Regions from separate parts of the Homo sapiens genome. Here region 2 is linked to region 1. The links are contacts of gene promoters, found by promoter capture Hi-C in human tissues and cell types (Jung and others, 2019). All regions are on one chromosome and are shown on one strand. The core of a region is centred on a gene start or on the middle of the fragment in contact, and the rest is flanking DNA. Distances in the headings are between cores, read along the strand shown. Region 1 holds the start of SDK2 (sidekick cell adhesion molecule 2). Region 2 overlaps LINC00469 (long intergenic non-protein coding RNA 469).

Region 1 (3,501 bases), core at 375-2,874:
TCCCCTCAGCCCTGTGAGTGAGAGCTGATTATTTTCATCTCTTTGATCTTGGCTCTCTGGATTGCCTGGCGCACGAGGCGGCGTGGGGAGTGGGTTGCAGCCCCCACAGTCCGGACCCCTAGGGTGGGTCTGGCCCCCTCCTGAGCCTGCGAGAGTGAAGGCCTAGCCCTGCGAGTCCTGGAGCTCGGTCCAGGCTTCGTCTCCCTCCGCCCCCAGCAGGCGCCGCTCGGACACCGCTGACACCACTGTCTGGATCGGCGAACCCCAAAGTCGAGGAACCGCCGGTGCAGCCGCCCTTCACCTCGGGGACCTGCCCGGGGACCAGGGGGACGTCTGGGCATCCACCCTCAGGAAGCGGGCAGCGCAGATCACACCTCGGATCCTTCGTAGCACTCCCAAACCCAAAGCCACCAGCCCTTCTCCACCGCGAGGCTGCTCCCGGCAGCCACAGGTCACAGCAGCGAGCGGCTGCACAGACTATCGAGCGAACAGCGGAGGCTGGAGGCAGGGGCGGGGATGCTGGGTGTGGGTGGATGGGTAGGAGGGGAGGCCTCAGACCCTCCCTGTGCACCACCCCCCGGTGGGTCCGCGGCTGCACCCGCGACCTTGGCTCCAGGCCCGCGCAGCGAAGCACCCCCAGCCCCAGCGGCTGGCCGAGCAGCCAGGGGCGGGCTCCCGTACGTGGCCAAGCCGGGCAATTGCTCTCCCCGGGCGAGCAACCCGGCATCCAGCGCTCGCCCACCCCACTCCCTCGCCCCGGGGAGGCCATCGCCTGCCCGGCAGGGGCCCTGCCCTTCCCCGCAGACACCGAGCAGGGAACCAGGAGCTCGGTCTGGGAAGCTCAGCGTAGCCGAGCGTGGAGCCCGGCACGGAATGTCGCTCCCCTCCCAAGCCGGCGCAGGGCAGCCACAGCAGACGGGGGGAGGGGAGCGCCCCTCCCACTTCACCTTGGGCTCTTCTCTGCCTCCCCAGGTCGTCCCCACCTTCCCCCATTCGGAAGCCACAAGTCTCGGAGAGACTGCCCCACCCCCAAAAGAGCCCCAAAACTTGGGAGATGGGGTGTCTTGAAACTCCCTGGAGAGGGCTCTGCCACGGCTAAGCCGGGTGTCCAGGAGGTCACCGTGAGGCCGGCCAGCTCCCGCCGCCCCTCCCCCGCCCACTCTCCCAGCCCCCTCCCTGTCCCCACGTGGGGGTCCCTCCTTACCTTGGGCTCTGGCCGCGCGGATCTGATGCAGAGCTAGCAGTGTCCAGATCAAAAGCCCCCACATGGTGACCAGCCTGGAGAGGGGTCCTCGGGGTCTCCCTTCCCTCCGCCCTGTTTTATAATCCTGGTGGGGTCCGATACCCCGTGGCTTAGTCCCAGGAAACAGTCAGTCTACGCGGCTCCGTGCCCCGGGGTGTAATATGCCCGGGAGGGGCAGCGCTTGGCTACCCCAACCCTTCCTCCTCTTCTGTACTAGTCCGAGCCCGGCAGCGCGCCCGGAAGGCGAGGGGCGAGCAGGGAGAAAGAGGCCAGGCCGCCCTCTCGGACTAGGGCGCCTCTCTCCCTTAGCACCCCAACTCCGACTTCTCCCAAACAGGGCGGCCTCTGCGATCCGGCCGGGTCGCCGGCCGAGCTCCGGAATAAATGGACAACTTCAGGAAACTTCCTCCCGTGGCCACGTTGCCCGCCCCCTCCCCGCCCCCTGGTTGGGTTCTCCCGGCCGACGCAGTCACCGCCGTTCCAGGCGCCGGGCCCCCGGGACCCGGCCAGAGCCGAGCGCAGTGGCAGACGCGGGTGCGGGGGTTCTTTTAGGGGCGCCGGTTTCGGGGGACGCGGTGAGCATAGCGGTCCGAATCTCCCTGGAGCTGAAGTTTTCTTCTCTCTAACTTTGCAGGCAGCATCTGGCGGGGCCGAACCACCCCCTCTGGGCTCCACCGCCCTCGCGCCGAATCGGGAGACGCCGGGTCTCCTCCGGGGGCGCTGGGGCCGGGCGCGCCCTCGGCTCCGCGCCCAGCCGGCTAGCAAACTTTGCGGGTCCCGGAGCCGGGCGCGCAGCCCTGAGCGCCCATGTCCGCGCCAGCCGCGGGGCGGCGGGGGAGGGTGCTGGGCTTCGCGACGCGGGCTGTCGCCGGCGCCCGGGCGCAGAGCCTCCTGCCGGCCCGAGGATGGAGACCGGCGGCTCTGCCCTCCGCCGCGCCCCGGCCGGAGCTCTCGGGAAGACGCACGGAGAGCCCGGCGGGCAGCCCCGGCTCCGGGGACGCGGCGCCCCTTCGGACGCCCGGCGATCGCCGACCTCCCGGGCCGGAGGAGCAACGGCCGCCCCAGCGCCTCGGCCGCCGCTGCCGCTCGCCGAGCCCGCCGCCCTCCGCTTCCCGGGCTCGGCGTCCAGAGAGCCGCTCCTGCCTGCGCCGAGCCGGAGCTGCGGGGGCAGCGTGAGCCGGGGACGAGCGCGGCGGAGGCGGAGACGCGGAGAGGGGGGCCGAGCGCTACCCCGTGGCCGCGACTGGAGAGCAGCCTGCGCGCCGGGAGGGGCGGCGGCGGCGGCGGCGGCCCCGAGCCAGGCCCGGGAGCGAGCCCCGCAGAAATACAATCCGACTGCGCGGCCGCGGGCGCCCAGCGGCTCTGGGACCCGCAGGGGGGCAGCAGTGCCAACCTTCTGCCGCGCCGGGAGAGATGCGCGCGAGCCCCTCCGCTCTCTGCCCAGCCTTTCCTTCCAGCCTCGCTCGCGCCCCTGTCTCAAAGGCCTCATAGGACTCCCAGAGTCTCCTATAGTCGGGAGCCCCCAGCCCCCTTCCGGACATGGAGTGATTGGTGGGGAGGCGGCGGTTGGGAAAAGGGGGTCGGTCAACCGATTGATTCCAGTTTCCCCTTCCCAAGTCAGGCTCTCCAAGGTCTGGAAATGCTCAGGGCGGAGGGGGAGACATCGGGAGGCCTGGGACCTGCAGAAGCCTGAGAAAGTGAAGTTGGTGCCAAGGAGCGTGCGTTCTTTGTTTCTTCTTTTTTCCTTCGGAGCCCAGCTTGTAAAGAGTAGAAGAACCGGACATTGGTGGAGGAATTCAAACAAGAGAGCCCGGAGGCGTCCTCTGCTGTGGCCCAGAGCTAGCGCCTACTCCACGAAGCTCAGCTGGGGTTAACAGGCTTCTGTTAAAATTTCCCGGGCACTGGGAAAATTTCAGGTGCCTTCGCCTCGGTGGACTCCTTTCCCTGCTAACAAAATTATTAAAAATAAGATTTTGCAACTGCGTTGGCATAAGGAAAAGTATATTAATATTGCATATTAAAACATGTTCTTCAGCCTAAAGCTTTACTTATTTTTTTCTGATTTTAAAAGAAATCAAAACATTTTCATGGGCCCCAAAAGACTATGGTCCCTGGCACTGGGCCTGCGGTGCTTAATGCAGAAGTCTACCCTGCGTGTCTGATATTTCTTCTGGGAAATAAAGAGCTAGTGAGACCCTCCATCTTTTGCCACAGTGCTTCTCTCTACTCTCTCTCGTGGTCCTACTTAGTCTGGTCCC
Region 2 (3,451 bases), core at 303-2,802, 160 kb after region 1:
ACACTGGCCCCCTCCAGCATTTTGCCCTTGGCCCTCCTCTCTTCCCATTTTCTGGGCCCTCCTATGGTTTGATTGCACAGATAAATTTTATATCTGTCTTTAAATCCCAACCCTTGCTTCTGAGCTCCAGAATTTGTAAATACAGCTGGCAGTGGGACATCTTTATCTACTTAAGAATCACTGTGCCCAAATGGAGCCCTTTATCTTCCCCACTAAACCTGCTTCTCCTCCTATTTTCTATTTCAGGGACTGGCATTCCCCTACTCTCATAATTCAGAAATCCAAGAGGCTTTCCAGAATCCCCTTTCTCTTTATATCTCATACTCATCTGGCCACAAAACTGATCTTATGCCCAAAATAGCCCAGGACTCTCTTTCCTGTCTTCACTGACACTGTCTTCCTTTCTTGAGCAGATTCATCGGGTAGTCTTTCATCTGTACATCCTCCCTACTGAGCTCGCCCAGAGGCTGGCACTTGGGTAAATGGCAGCAAATATTTACTGAATGAATAAGCCCCATCTCAGGCCGTTCCATTGTCCACATTGCTAGTGGTCCTTCTCCTAAAATCCAGAGATAATTATATCTTTGTCTTGCTTGAAAACCTCCATAACATGCCGTGACTTCCAGGATAGTTTCACCCCATGCTGCCTAATTTTACATGGTTTGTACACCCTCCAACACCATCTCCAGCAGGCACCCATGGCAATACCAGCTCCTGTGTCTCTAATCAAAGGCCCCATCTCATGCTTTTGTGCCTTGCATGTGTTGTCCCTGTTGCCTGGAGCATCATTCATCCGCCATCTGGTCAACCTCTATTGTAATCTAAGAATCACTATTCTGATGATCTATCACTATGTAATGAATAACCCCAAACTTAGTGGCTTAAAACAACAATCATTTTATTACCATATCTTATAGTTCTGGGCTTGACTGGGCTCAGAACTGGGTTCTGTTCTTGTTCGTGGTCTCTCATATGGCTGCAGTCAGACAGTGGCTGGGCTGGAGTCATCTTGAGGACTTTCTCACTCACATGTCTGCCTGGGTCAGTGGGTACCACCTACACATAGGCTCTTCATGTGGCTTGGGCTTCCTCCCAACATGGTGGCCATGTTGTTAGAGCAAGCATACTGAGAGAGAAAGATCAGCAGAAGCTTCTTGACCTTTTCTAACCTAACCTTGGAAGTCCTGTAGCATCACTGCTGCTACAGTCTACTCATCAAGGTTGTCACAAGGGCCTGCCCAGGTTCAAAGGAAGGGGATATTTCACTTCGTGATGAGGGAATGGCAAGGTTCTGAAGAGAGCATGTGGGATGGAAATATTGTTGCAGCCACTGAGGGAAAATATAATCTGCCACATATGACAGCCCCTCCTCCAAGAAGTCCTTGGATGTCCCTTTCCCTCCTCCAGGCTACTCCTGTGCCTCTTGCTAGTATTCCCCACCATATGTGCTGTCATTATTTTTTAGTTTAGTTCATTGAGGGCATGGGCTATCTTTTACTTATCTTTGTGCTTCGCACATAGTTGGTTCTCATTAATTGCTTGCAAATTACTCACTGAGGAAGTGAGAGACTGAGTATGACCTGCTAACCCATAGCAAGGAATGTTCTTTCCAGAGCAGGAAGTGACTTCCCAGGATGGCCACCACTCAGGCAATTGTGGGCAGAAGCCCTGGCTGAAGCTACTCCTCAACTAAAACATACCTGGCCCTCACTGCTGCCATTCAGGACGCCTCTCCCATGTAAGATCTGTTACCTGCTGGCAGGTGTGCACAGGTGAAGCCCTTTGATTCTCCCCAATACCACCTCTACCTTCTTGCTCCTGTTTTAAAATTTCCAGCAGTGGAATGAAAGGTGGCTCCATGAAAGAGGGAAGAGTGTGGGAAAGTTTGGAGGGTTGGTGGGAGGCAAAGGGAGAGGAAGCCCCTTCCTTTCTCCCTCCCATTCCCCATTGGCCCTCTGGAGCCATGGAGCACAGAAATATCCCTTCTCATTTCCCGGCACCATTCCCCAGCTGCCTGGCCAGGATTGCTGGGCCTTGGGAGCAATTGTTTGCTGAGCCATTCAGCGGGCAGCTCCCTCATGGGCACACAGCCCCACTGCCTGACAGGCTGTGTGCAAGGGGACAGGCCTGAATGACTGTAATATGAACCATGAAAGTGGATATTAAAGGCTTTATTACAGGGTGAGGACTGCTAATTGCAACTTTCCTTTCAGGAAGCTGGAGCTGATGAGTTTAAGCAGCGGCACCCAATTATTATAACTCTGTCAGCACAGAGCAGGGGAAAGGTGGGGGAGGGGAGGAGGCAGGCTGAAGGCACAATTACCTGAACTTTATCCAAGGCACACACCGCTGGCCTGGAATGTTAAAGGGAGATTGGTTCTGCTCTGAGCTTCCTCCCTGTCACAGCTGTGTTGTTGTTGATTGCTGATCCCCCAGCCCTTCTCCCCTGCCCTGCAGTCTTCTTGTGGAATAGGTGGCACTTGTGTACATCAAATGACACCCAAGCCCTCCCTGGCCCCTGCTGCTGACGCAGCCCCCTTGCTGAGACCTAAGGCCTTCCACGGCACCTTGGAATCAAGCTGCCCAGGCTTCCATTCTTTAGATGGGAAAGTAGACTCAGCGAAGACAGGAAGTTGCCCAGATTACCCAGCTCTTAAGCGGCAGAGCAGGAGGTAACCGGAGGCTCCTTAAAATTCAGCCCCAGGTATAGGCACTGCCCACCATGTACACGGGCTGAGTATTCTGATGTGCTCCCGGAGGAAGAAAATGCAGCCCTTGCTAGGGAGATGACTTGTAAACAGCATCATCATTCAAACTCATCATTACCATGCTCTAAGTGTGTTCAGTGCTTTACATTTCACAGAGTGCCTTCAGATATTAGTGTGTTCCAGTGTTGCTGAGCACCTACTGGGTGCCAGGTGCTGGAGACAGAGATGACAGATGATGTTTCTGTCTGCAAGGAGATCACAGCTTAGTGGGAAGACACACAAGCCGACCGACAATTATGATACCGAGTCTAAAGTGCTAGATAGAGGTGTCCTCACACACATTACCGCCTTTAATTTAATCACATAAATTTAAGTGAGTGCACATAAAAAGCTAATACTACAAGGTGTGGTCTGCTCAGTGTCAGTTGAGCAGCACAGATAGCAAAAATAGAATTGTTCCCTGTTGGGAGAGCTCACCGTTGCACACGGTGGTCAACGGTGGGTTCACTAAAAAGGCAGCTCTGATGGATAGGTAAGAATTCAAAAGGCAGCGAAAAGGGATAGGAGTTGGGAGTGATGGGGAAGAGAGCAAAGTTTCTTTTTTGCATCCAACTAGAGGGTCTGTATCTGAAATATTGATCCCTCCTTATCCCCATCCAAGAGTATTAAGGTTGTCTTTGTCATGATGAAGTTAGAGCAGTGTAGTGAACATGCAGGCCCCTATGCTGGGCATTGAAGATGCC

What was found. The method cuts DNA at HindIII sites, captures the fragments that hold promoters and counts their contacts. A contact is called where the count stands out against the background at its distance.
Region 2: a contact is called between a fragment that was not itself captured here and the fragment with the promoter of SDK2 in region 1, in 5 of the 25 tissues and cell types used here (IMR-90 fibroblasts, aorta, mesendoderm cells and 2 more).

What each region holds. Positions count from the first base shown.
Region 1 is chr17:73,642,821-73,646,321 of GRCh38, forward strand. It overlaps SDK2 (sidekick cell adhesion molecule 2), which reads right to left and starts at 1,625. Exons shown (of 45, transcript NM_001144952.2): 1 at 1,205-1,625. The coding sequence starts at 1,268. It overlaps LOC124904054 (a long non-coding RNA gene), which reads left to right and starts at 2,654. Exons shown (of 2, transcript XR_007065893.1): 1 at 2,654-2,874; 2 at 3,001-3,284. The HindIII fragment of the contact is 11,047 bases long and covers 1-3,501 here.
Region 2 is chr17:73,802,016-73,805,466 of GRCh38, forward strand. The region is part of intron 2 of LINC00469 (long intergenic non-protein coding RNA 469); the gene reads right to left. Among named protein-coding and RNA genes, the nearest start is that of LINC02092, 17 kb to the left of the region's middle. The HindIII fragment of the contact is 8,376 bases long and covers 1-3,451 here.